Linked DNA regions of Homo sapiens: regions 1 and 2 are each linked to region 3. The links are contacts of gene promoters, found by promoter capture Hi-C in blood cells and fetal thymus (Javierre and others, 2016). All regions are on one chromosome and are shown on one strand. The core of a region is centred on a gene start or on the middle of the fragment in contact, and the rest is flanking DNA. Distances in the headings are between cores, read along the strand shown.

Region 1 (3,463 bases), core at 914-3,413, 300 kb before region 3:
ACAGCCCATGAAGCAATTAAAGGAAAAGGGAAAAGGAAGGGAAGAAGCAAGGGAGTGAGGGAAGGAGAGACAGAAAATCCACCTAACCACAGGGAAAGGCGAGGTGTCAGCACCCCCCAGTTTTCCAAGTGACCACCAGGCGGCACTGTTCGCAGTTCCCACAGCTAGGTAAAGCAACCCCCTTTTAAAAACAAAAACATGGAACAAATCACCAAAATCCTTCATCTTAACTGCGGTGCCTTCATCTCAGGAGGCCCCATAGCTACCCAAAAAGTCGCGGCTGTTCACCCTACAGGAGGTGGGAAGGAGGTGGGAAGCGGCCGCCCGCTGCAGGCAGGCTGCGTCTTACCTTTGGAGTCTTCTTTGGCCAAGTCACCACAGGGACCCCAGTGATGGCCAGACTAGGGTCATCATCTGCGTGCTCCTTCAGGACGTTCTGTGGCCAAACAAAGCATCCATATTAGCCCAGGGGGAAGGGGAGGTCTCTGAAGACAGCTGAACAGCAGACATAGTCCAGCAAGGATCACACTCCACAAAGTCAGCGCCTGGCCATTGACTCCACCACCACCCACACATTCAATAGAAACCAAGTCACTAGGGTCCCCTGGGGCCCACGAAACACACAACGTTCCCCTCTGCCCTCTACAAAATTTCTTTAACAAAGCAAATCACATACCTCCCTGTGACTTCCACGTATGTATCACCCATGATCACAGTTATGACATCTAGCACTTGTCCAGAGCGTCGGGGACTCACACACAAACTTTTTCTTTTTTTTTTTTTTTTGAGACAGAATCTTGCTCTGTCACCCAGGCCGGAGTGCAGTTGTATAATCATAGCTCACTACATCCTTGACCACCTGGATCAAGTGATCCTCATGCCTTAGCCTCCTAAGTAGCTGAGACCACAGGTGCATGGCACCCTCCCTGGCTAAATTTTTTTTTTTTTTTTAGACAAAGTCTTACTCTGTCACCCAGGCTGGAGTTCAGTGGCGCAATCTGGGCTCAAGCAACTTCTGCCTCTTGGGTTCAAGCGATTTCCCTGCCCCAGCCTCCCGAGTAGCTGTGAATGCAGGTGTGCACCACCACGCTGGGCTAATTTTTGTATTTTTAGTACAGACAGGATTTTGCCATGTTGGCCAGGCTAGTCTCCAACTCCTGACCTCAAGTGACCCACCTGCCTTGGCCTCCCAAAGTGCTGGGATTACAGGCGTGAGCCAACACGCCCAGCCATAATTTTTAAATTTTTTTGTGCAGACAGGGTATATGCCATGTTGCCCAAGCTTGTCTCAAACTCCTGGCCTCGAGGAATCCTCCCTCCTTAGCCTACCAAAATGCTGGGATTACAGGGGTAAGCCACTGTGCCTCATTTAATTCCTACCAAGCACTCTGGGAGGGCTGGGCGGTGGCACTACGGATCCTCTAATGTTCACAAATTTAACTACGTACTCAGCGAAGCAAACAAAACCAACCTCCAGACCTTGATGCCTTCATAGAGCCATGACTCCGTCCTTTAGTCAGCTTGCTACATGTACCCTAACCCTGCTGTGTGACGACGTGTAAATGTTTTTTGCAACATGGGCCCTAAATACAAGAAGATGCTTGATCTGGTCTGACTGAGGATGGAGTCACGTGGCCAAATTGTGGCAGAAAAATGGGCTGCGTTGGACGGACTGCCAGGCTGCTTGGCGATCTCCCACGAGGCACACTGTGTTCACTCTCGGTGAGCAGTTTGAAGGTTCTTCAAAGGGAATTCTCACTCTGCCAGACTTTGGCCTTGTGTGGCTGGACTTTAGAACATCATCCAGGTATAAAATGCTACCCAGCTGAATTATCTAACAGCTAACTTACAGGGGAGGTTACCAAGGCCCAGAAAGGCTCACAGGATTTTAGTGCTACCCCAAACTATGAAGACAGACCCCCAGAACCCCACTCTCTGGCACCAGACTTTCTGCCCCAGGACCACCCACATAGGGTTTTTTTTGGCTACATCCACACATCCACAGCACCCCACAAAAAAATGTGTTTAAGCACACACAGAACTATCACTGGCCCATTCTGATCCTGGACCACGGATTGTTGAATTGTACAAAAACATTTTTTCCGGACATTTAAGAACAGAGTAAATCATACAGAAGCACTGAGCAGGAAGAGCAGAAGCGCTCAGGAGACAAATGAAGGTGAAGATTATTTTAATTCACCTTTCCTAATTCACTTCACTAGAAATGACTCCAGCTTACTTCCAGTTTACTCTGCTCATTGTCCTTTTTTTTTTTTTTTTTTTTTGAGACAGGGTGTGACTGTCACCCAGGCTGGAGTGCAGGGGCACAATCTCAGCTCACTGTAGCCTCAAACTCCTGGGCTCAAGTGATCCTCCCACCTCAGCCTCCTCAGTAGCCGGGACTACAAGTGCGTAACACCAAGCCCAGCTAATTGTATTATTTGTACAGATGGGTTCTCACCATGTTGCACAGGCTGGTCTTGAATTTCTGGGCTCAAGCAAAACACCTGCCTCAGCCCCCCAAAGTGCTGGGAGTGCGGATGTGAGCCCCCCAAAGTGCTGGGATTGCGAGTGTGAGCCTCCCAAAGTGCTGGGATTGCAGGTGTGAGCCCCCCAAAGTGCTGGGATTATAGGTGTGAGCCCCCCAAAGTGCTGGGATTGCAGGTGTGAGCCCCCCAAAGTGCTGGGATTATAGGTGTGAGCCTCCCAAAGTTCTGGGATTGCAGGTGTGAGCCACTGCACGCCTATCATACTTTCCTGATCATAATTTGCTTGCATGATTTTTCTTTTTTTTTTTTTGAGTGATTTTTCAAGATGTGGCTGTTAACCTGAAGAACTTCCTCCTTAGCCCACAGGAAACAGCAAACAGCACAGTGGTCAAGAATGTTGGCTCTAGAACTGGCTCCAGGGGTTTAAATCCCAGCCCCGGCACATACAGCTTCCCCAAAGTCCCATAGTCAATGTCAATGATTTGTAAATGCTATTTATAAAGTGTCTTTATTCACTGCTATATCCTCAAAGCCTCACATAATGACTAACCTAGAGTAAGCTTCCAATAAACAAAGTTGGGTTTTGTTTGTTTGTTTGTTTTTTGAGATGGAGTGTTACTCTGTCACCCAGGCTGGAGTGCAGTGGCACCATCTTGGTTCACTGCAACCTCTGCCTCCCAGGTTCAAGCGAGTCTCCTGCCTCAGCCTCCTGAGTAGCTAGGATTACAGGCGTGTGCCACCACCCCTGGCTAATTTTTGTTATTTTTAGTAGAGACAGGGTTTCACCATGTTGGCCAGGCTGGTCTCAAACTCCTAGCCTCAAGTGATCCACCCGCCTCGGCCTCCCAAAGTGCTGGGATTACAGGTGTGAGCCACCGCACCTGGCCCCAGAGTTTTTATAAAATAAAGCCACAAATACTAAAAGAGGGACAGTCTACAAAATGCCTGAACAGATCTCCTCAAAACTGTCAAGG
Region 2 (3,521 bases), core at 86-2,585, 290 kb after region 3:
CGGGAGGGTTTATGGATCTGGGGTTCCCCGCGTTGCCAGAGGAGCCGGGGTCCTGGCCTCTTCCCCTGCCAGCAGTGCCGGGGTCCTTTCGGGTTCACGTTCCCCATCCAGGCCCTCCCCTCCAGTGTCCTGGGACCACCGATGTTGGACGAGGAAGAGGTATAAACACTGGCTGCATCTTGTGTTACCCGACTCTATCGACTCCTTCCTCCAAACGCTTTGTGTGTTTCCCCCATATCCAGCAGCGGTCAGGACCACCTGTTCGGGGTGACTGGAGGCTGGCTCTGCTGTTTAATGGTTGTGTAACACCTCGGAGCCTGTTTCCTCCTTTATAAAAGGGGAATGACTGTAGTGTCTGCCTCCAAGGGGCTGTTGTGGGGATGGAGTGAGATAGGTAAATTGCTTATTCCAGTGCTTGGCCAGAGTTAGGTGTCCCTGCACCTGGAGGCTGGCCCCCTTACAACCTCATCGGGAGGCCCGCCCCCATCTCGGGAGGGCTTTGGGTGCCTCCTAAGAAGACTTTTGGTGCCACAGCTGTTGGAGGTGCAGTCTGTCCTTCTGGCAAGTTGGAGGGTTTTCTGGCCGGTCCTGAAACATTATATGAGGGAGATGTCATTGTTGAGGGCAGACATCCCAGACACCGTTCTGACATGTGGATTCGGCTCTGGGCAGAGATTCCTCTTTTCCAAGTCACAGAAAATGCCTGGCCCTCAAAGATTAAAGCGCTTTTTCACTCTCTCTCCCTTTCCCACTATGAATATTAGGTATTTGCTGCAGGTAACTTTTTTGTCTGCGCAACAGAACTTCTTTGGACTGGCAGCAGCGGCCTTGAGCAGCTTGGCCCTGCAGAAAGCTCATGATGGGATCTCTGCTGAGTTAAGCTTATTGCATTAGGAACTGGACTAGCGGGGGCTGTCTTAGGTCTGCTCTGGAGGCATCGCGGGAGAAGTTTCCTAGGAGACTCCATAAACAGCGTAATAAAAGAGCAGGAATATCTTGCCCCCTCTCACCTCACCTTTTTAAGAGAGCTGTGAGCCCCAAGCATATCCAGGTTTAAATGTTATGCTTTTACCTGAAGTTAAAATATTAGATACTTAGCCCTGGATGGCACCCCCCTCACCGCCGCGGTCCCTGGAATAAACGATTAGTCAACTTGTTCTTTGTTATGTTCCTGAAACACCCCTATTTCCTCTCTTGAAGGTTTCCCTGATGATCTGTTCCCGTAGCTCCTCCTCCCATCCCCCTTACCCGGCACATTGGTCAGTCTCTGCTGATTCTCTGGTCTTGCCAGTTTGAGCTGGCACTGAGCCTGTAAAGATGTTCTGCTTTTTAAAAAACAAATGGTGTTGAGGCTGCAGCCCTGTGCGCCCTCCAGTCTCTGATTTTGAGCAGTTCCATTGGAATCAAACCCGACTGGATCGCAGCATATGCTATGCCTCGAGAGAGCCTTTTCAAACAAAGCTCGAGGTGAAAGACTGGAATGTATCTTATTAAGAAAACTTAATCCTCTTCTTTATTTTAATATAAACTTCTACATATACAGGGAGAGAATGGATGAGTCACGGGGGGCATGGACTGGAAAGGTCTCACCTAAGTAAGCTCTGCTAAATGAAAACTAAATCAGTCTCCCCTTTGCACTCTTGTTTGGATAACCTAAAGGCTTATTAAACAACACCAAATAATTTTAGTAATGGCATTTTTTTTTTCATTTCTCTCAAAAATATTTTGGCAGCTGGCCGTTGCTCAGTTAACTTTCTTGATTGCAAAATGCACCATCAGTTTGGTGCAAGAAGCTTATCTTGCTCTCTTGGCTCTCTCACTTTCGCTGCTTTTCCCTGTGCCTAAGGTCTCCTGCTGCCTAAGGTCGGCCACCTAAGGTCTACCACCACAGGCCCTCGGATGGGATCTGTCCAGTCATTTCTCATGAAGATGCCCTTTGTCTGTCTGTGTGAGGCTGGTTTGTCCAGTGCTGAGTTTAGTTGGCAGTGTAGAACTTTGGTATGGATGACAGACAAATGACTCAAAACCAGTTGTCTGGGCTGTAGTCTGTGGCACAGAAAGAAACTAGAGGAAGGTGAGTTTCTGACCCCAGCTCTCCTAGTGAGAACTGCTACCTGGCTTTCAGGGAAGGAAGGTTGAGATCGGAGGCAACGCGGGGCGTGGTGGCTCATGCCTGTAGTCCCAGCACTTTGGGAGGCCGAGGTGGGGGATTGCTTGAGCCCAGGAGTTCAAGATCAGCCTGGGCAATGTAGCAAGATCCCCATCTCTAAAAAAGAAAAAGAAAGAAAGAAAAAAAGGGATTGGGGGCAGGGCAGAAAGAAGACTTAACCTCAGAGCCTGTCTGGCTTCCATCCTGGTGGGGTTCATGCCTTCCCTGCCGGCTGTCTGGGTCCTCCCCTCCTGCCCGAGCTGAGAAAGGCCAGCTGGGTCTCCTCTTCTGTGTGACTGTTTCTGGCCTAGGTTCTTTCTAACTTCAACTTCCTGTCTGTCCTCTGGCCTCTTCGTTCTAGCTGTCTAACTCTCCGTGGTACACTCTGCTTTTTGTTGTTGTTGTTTGATTTCCTGTTAGCTGCTGCCTCCCAGCTGTTTCCAGATGAGGTTCAACAGCTCTCTGGGGAGGAACTAAGTGCAGGGGAAGTTGTGGTTATTTTTTACCGAGTCCTGAGAAGTGGCCTAGGGATTCTGACTGTGATCCATTCCTGAACTGGCAGGGCTTCACCTCCTGAAGGGTCTTTGCCCGGGGCTGACTTTGGGTGTGGAACAGGGTGTTTGAGGACTTGGATATGAGTGTGCCCAGGGCCTGCTGGGTAGGGAACCGTGCAGATGGGATTCCTTGTCCTTCTCACTCAGTTTTGCTGAGAAGCCCTGTGGCGAAGGGTCTTGATTTGGTCCAGAAACATGTGCTCAATTATTGGGACATTTTGGAGAGAAGGGGTTGCCTTTCCCCGAGGCAAACCAGGTGTTAATGATGGAAAAAATCCTTATTTTTCCTTAGACTTATCTGAAGTCTAAGAATGCTATTCAATGGGAAAGATAAAATTTCCCTGCAAGGTGGAAGTGAGGATCAGCAGAGATAACCTCTGGGAATGGAGCTGGGAATGGGGCTAGTGCCTGGCAAGTAACACACAAGAGGAGGGTTTAACGGGCTCCGCATAGCAAGTGGGTTATGGCAGAATTTTAGTTCTGCATCTGCATTCATCTGACATTTATGAGGAGCCCGTGTCTTATCTATGAACTGAAGGAAATAGTGTATCTAACCAGGGTCTTAGCTGAGCTTTCAAATGCCTGCTTGACAAATACTAAATAGAAGCATTCTTGATTTGGCCGGGTGCTTTCTGAGGCTCTACAATGGAGCTATGTACTGTAGAACATAGTTCATGGTTCTTGCCCTCTTGACACTGTAAGGAATGTCACACATGTATATCCTTCACACAGAATTTCCTTTTTTTGAGATAGGATCTCGCTCTGTTTCCCAGTCTGGAGGATAGTGATGTGATCACAGCTCACTGCAGCCTTGACCT
Region 3 (3,966 bases), core at 405-2,904:
CAGGGCCCACATCCCACAAAGACAGGTTCCTCAGAGGCCACGATAGGACCTGCTGAAGTCGGAATGGAGGGGGGCTCTGAGCTAGGACAGCCCCTTTTCGGGTCCTCTCCAAGGTCTAGGTGGGGGTGGAGGTGTCTGGATTTTGGCTCCATCCTAGGTCAGTGTCTGACCTCACCTCACACACACAAGGCTTGGCTGGCCGGAGAGGGCCACCGGATGACGTGGTTCCCTGCAGGTCACTAAACACTGAGTCACAGAGGTGGGGTGAGGCCCCACCTGGGGATCTCAACCTTTGGTCCCCAATGTTGATGAAGCCCAGATGGGAGTCAGGGTCCTCCCACTGACTGTTTCTCCTGTCCCCACCCCTCACAACACCGACTCCCAAGCAATTGCACATAAATCCGTAAACCACCCGTGGGGGCCTGCAGGTGGCAGGCAGAGCCTGGTGTGGGGCCCCTGCCCCCAGTGCTCTGTTCCTTCCTCAGTTCATTTTCTACACTGTCTGGTTTTGTCCCAGGGAACTAGGAAAGCACAGAAGTAATTGTAGCCACGCAATTCCAGAACCACCAACTGCAAGCCGTGGAATCCTGGGAGCTGCAGACACAGAACTCGCATCCACAGGACCCCAGAGCCTCAGGCTGCAGAGCGCAGGCCACAGAGCCCTGGAGCCACAGGCTGATCTGCAGCCGGGAGCATCCCAGAACCACAGGACCCAGACACACAGCCCAGGCAATCCGAGCACCAAGGGACTCAAATCTGCAGCTCACAGAGTCTGCAGAGACCACAGCAGGTAGCGCAGCAATCCTGGAACCATGGGAGGCCCAAGAGCAGCCCACTGCTTTCTAGAACCACAGGAGAGGAACGAGCTGTGGGCTCTCAGCACAGAGCTGGGAGGGTGGCCCCAGAGTTCACCTCCTCCTCCAAACACCTTCCACTTACGTATAGGGCTTGGCCTCTAGGGCCCCGCAGCCAGCGCCCCTGAGCGGCCTCCAGGAGTGAAGAGCCGGCCAAGGCCCTGCCAAGGCTGCAGGGCGGGGACACCCAGTGGGGGACGCCCGGGAGGGGAAACCCTTCGGGCGGGCGGACCCTCGGGCCCCCCGGCGCGCAGGCGCACTCACCGGCCGTGTCGTAGAGGTTCAGGGTCACCTCCTTGCTGCCAACGGTCACGCTGGCCGTGTACTTCTCGAACACCGATGGGGCGTAGTGCTGCGGGAGAGGGGGTCGGGTTGGTCCTTAGTGGGGCCGGCGGGGGCCAAAGTTCCAGCTGAATCCACTGTCCACCCCCCTCACTCGTCCCGGATCAGCCCCCCCTCACCCCGCTGGGCTCTGGAATTCCCGAGGGGGCGCCCCGGGGTGGCGGCCGCCTGTCCGTGCTCGGGACGCTGGGGACTGAGGGTCGGGGCTCTGGGCTCAGGGTAAGGGGCGTCCCTCGCCCCCACCCCAGCCCCGCTGCGGGCCTCACCTCGGGGAAGGAGCCCTGGCTGTACACCATGAGCAGCGAGGTCTTGCCGCAGCCGCCGTCGCCCACGATCACGATCTTCAGCTCCTTCCTGCCCGGACCGGGGGCGGCGGTCTGGGCCAGGGCCCCGGGGGCATCCATTGCCCGGAGCCCGCAGCACTGGCGGCGGCGCGCCGGGCACTAGCGGAGCCAAGAGGTCGGGGGCGGGGCGGGGCCGGAACCAGCCCCGCCCACTCGGAGCAGCGCCGCCTCCGCCAGGCAGCCTCCCGGCCGACCTCCCAGCCTCAGTTTCCTTTCTGCTAAGGTCTCAGCCCTGGGTGTGGGTATTCAGCTCTCAGTCCCAGGGATACTGCAGCACCGGAAAAACGGGGCTCAGCTGCGAGCAAAGCTCCCACCCCCAACCCACCGCCACCCTCCGCGCGTCACGTCGCGCCCCTCGCCGGCGAGACCCGATCGTGGCTGCCCAGCGACTCCAGGTGCCCCTGATTAGCAGGCTCCGCCTTCGGCAGGGACCCTCTGATTGGCTGGCGCGGCCAGACAGGGTCTCCCGGATTGGCTGGCTGTGCCTCCGCACCGGGTTCGAGAAGCCCCCGGCCTCCAGCTCCGGGAAGAGCCCCTCAACTTTGCACTGCCCCAGCGGTGTGGCTTGGCACATGTCCGCCTCTGGCCTCAGCTTCCCCACAGGAGGTAGCGGCGGTGGCACCAGGGAAGATGCTGACGCGAGAGTCATGTCTGCCCACCTCGCCTGGGCCAGGGACGCCAGCGTGCACGCGGGTTCGGGGTGAGGGACTGGGCTCCGCTTACCCGCACCCCGACCCTGGGCTGCAGGGTGGACGTCTGACGCCCTCTGCCGGGCAATCGCCTCGGCGCCGGCCGCTCCGGGCGCAGGTTGGCCCGAAACCACTAGGGGCGGCCGCCTCCTTCCGGCAGGAGCCAGAGGCGTGAACCACGCAAGACGTCGTCAGGGAGGGGCAGGTTGGAGTAGCTCTAGTTGAAGTCAACTTGGTCCCTCTCCTGGAGCTTTGGAGACTGATAACCCCACACCCACCAAGAAATGTAAGAAAATGCGTTTCCTTGCCAGCAGCCACATGTCCTTCATCCCAGGAATCCCCCCAACTCTCCCATCCCCTGATCAAAACAGCTTATTTGTTGAGCACTTACTGTAGGCAGTGCTATCAGGGCTGCTGGCTGAATTACCCGTAACCCCCACCCCTCCTCTTACTCCTCACCCTGGGCGGGCTGACTGCCCTCTGCACCACCCAGATGAGTCGACAGGGTGGCAGAGGGACCCCCCCCTGGAGCCGGTCCACGGCAGACAGGCACGAGAGCATGGCCGAGAGTGGGATCCTACCAGCTGGGGTAGGAAGAGCCCATTTCTAACAAAACCCCCAACAGCAGCATGGTTGGGGGCAAGTGGCCTTCGTAGTTTCCTCAGATAGGGGCTGGCAGGACTCAGGATCTTTTTGCTGGCGACCCCACCCCGAAGACTCCCAGTTTTCAAGGTCTCGGCAAGGGTCATGTAAACCTCACTTCGTGGAGGAAAACCGCCAACCTGGCAGTTCCATGGTCAAGGTTCTCACAGTGCAAGCAAGGCACGGTCTGACCACCAGAGGGCAGCAGCGACCGCCCACAGAATCCCAAGACCACAGCAGAGCTGGGAAGGGGAGGCCGGGGAGGCACCCCAGGTTCTCAGTGGACGCCCTCTTCAGGCACTGGGCAAAGGGTAATCTCCTGGGTCAAGCACCCCCTAGACAAATGCACAGCAACTCATCCATTCCTTTTTTGCAACACGTTTATTGAGAGGCAGTTGTGCTCCAGCCTTCCAGGAGGTCACAGTCTTAGGGGAAGCAGTGCAATGGAGGTTGGAAGCAGGGGAACCCTTTACTGAAGGCTGAGCGCTGGCTGGCACACTAGGCCTGGCAGCACTGGAGGGCAGGCAGGGAAAGTAGGGTGGGTAACCCAGCCTGGCAAATGCACGGCAGCTAGAAAACCTCTTCAGGTTCTGGGGTGGCTGGGCCATGAGAGGGGAGGCCAGGCAGGGCTGTCAAGGTAACCGGGGTCAGATCATGGAGTTGCCTGCCAGGCTCCACAGGAGTGGGGGACAGAAGCAGAGCAACCCAGCTACCAGCCGGGCCCTGAGCTCCCTCAGGGTGACCAGGGAGGAGCTGTGACTGGCTGGGGAGGCAGGGCTGGGGCCGAGGTTCCCCAGGACGACAGGAGGGAGCCAAGGCACTCTAAGAGGTGGAAGAAGAGGACCAGAAGCTGGTGAGTGCATCACTGGAGCCCATAGGAGGGCTCCTGACTGTCCTCAAAAGCCTCAGACCTCAGTGTCCACTTTCTCCATCCAAGAAATGGGGCTGTGATCTCTGCTTATGACAGCACAAGCTTGCACAGAAGTGGAGGCGGGAAATAAGCACAAGTGTGCCTTCCCAGCCCGGCCTGGGTCCAGGCAGAACAGCTGATACTGGCCCCAGTCTGCCCACCCACCCCTGCTGGCCAGGAGGCTG

What was found. Contacts are between HindIII fragments. The CHiCAGO score rates a contact against its expected background, and 5 or more counts as called.
Region 1: a contact is called between a fragment that was not itself captured here and the fragment with the promoter of RHOF in region 3, in 6 of 17 cell types (naive CD4 T cells, total CD8 T cells, naive CD8 T cells and 3 more). The highest score is 7.9, in naive CD4 T cells.
Region 2: a contact is called between a fragment that was not itself captured here and the fragment with the promoter of RHOF in region 3, in 1 of 17 cell types (fetal thymus). The highest score is 5.3, in fetal thymus.

Annotation. Positions count from the first base shown.
Region 1 is chr12:121,494,230-121,497,692 of GRCh38, forward strand. KDM2B (lysine demethylase 2B) reads right to left here. Exons shown (of 23, transcript NM_032590.5): 12 at 350-436. Among named protein-coding and RNA genes, the nearest start is that of MIR7107, 52 kb to the left of the region's middle. The HindIII fragment of the contact is 1,767 bases long and covers 1,281-3,047 here.
Region 2 is chr12:122,079,390-122,082,910 of GRCh38, forward strand. The region is part of intron 1 of MLXIP (MLX interacting protein); the gene reads left to right. Among named protein-coding and RNA genes, the nearest start is that of MLXIP, 2.4 kb to the left of the region's middle. RefSeq lists enhancers at 1,817-1,866, 1,937-1,986. The HindIII fragment of the contact is 912 bases long and covers 880-1,791 here.
Region 3 is chr12:121,792,034-121,795,999 of GRCh38, forward strand. It overlaps RHOF (ras homolog family member F, filopodia associated), which reads right to left and starts at 1,655. Exons shown (of 5, transcript NM_019034.3): 1 at 1,463-1,655; 2 at 1,119-1,206. The coding sequence starts at 1,600. LINC01089 (long intergenic non-protein coding RNA 1089) reads right to left here. Exons shown (of 4, transcript NR_152740.1): 4 at 3,234-3,966. It also overlaps a transcript of SETD1B not described here. RefSeq lists enhancers at 726-1,557, 1,563-2,103, 2,050-2,099, 2,644-3,184, 3,480-3,649 and a silencer at 1,030-1,569. The HindIII fragment of the contact is 6,952 bases long and covers 1-3,842 here.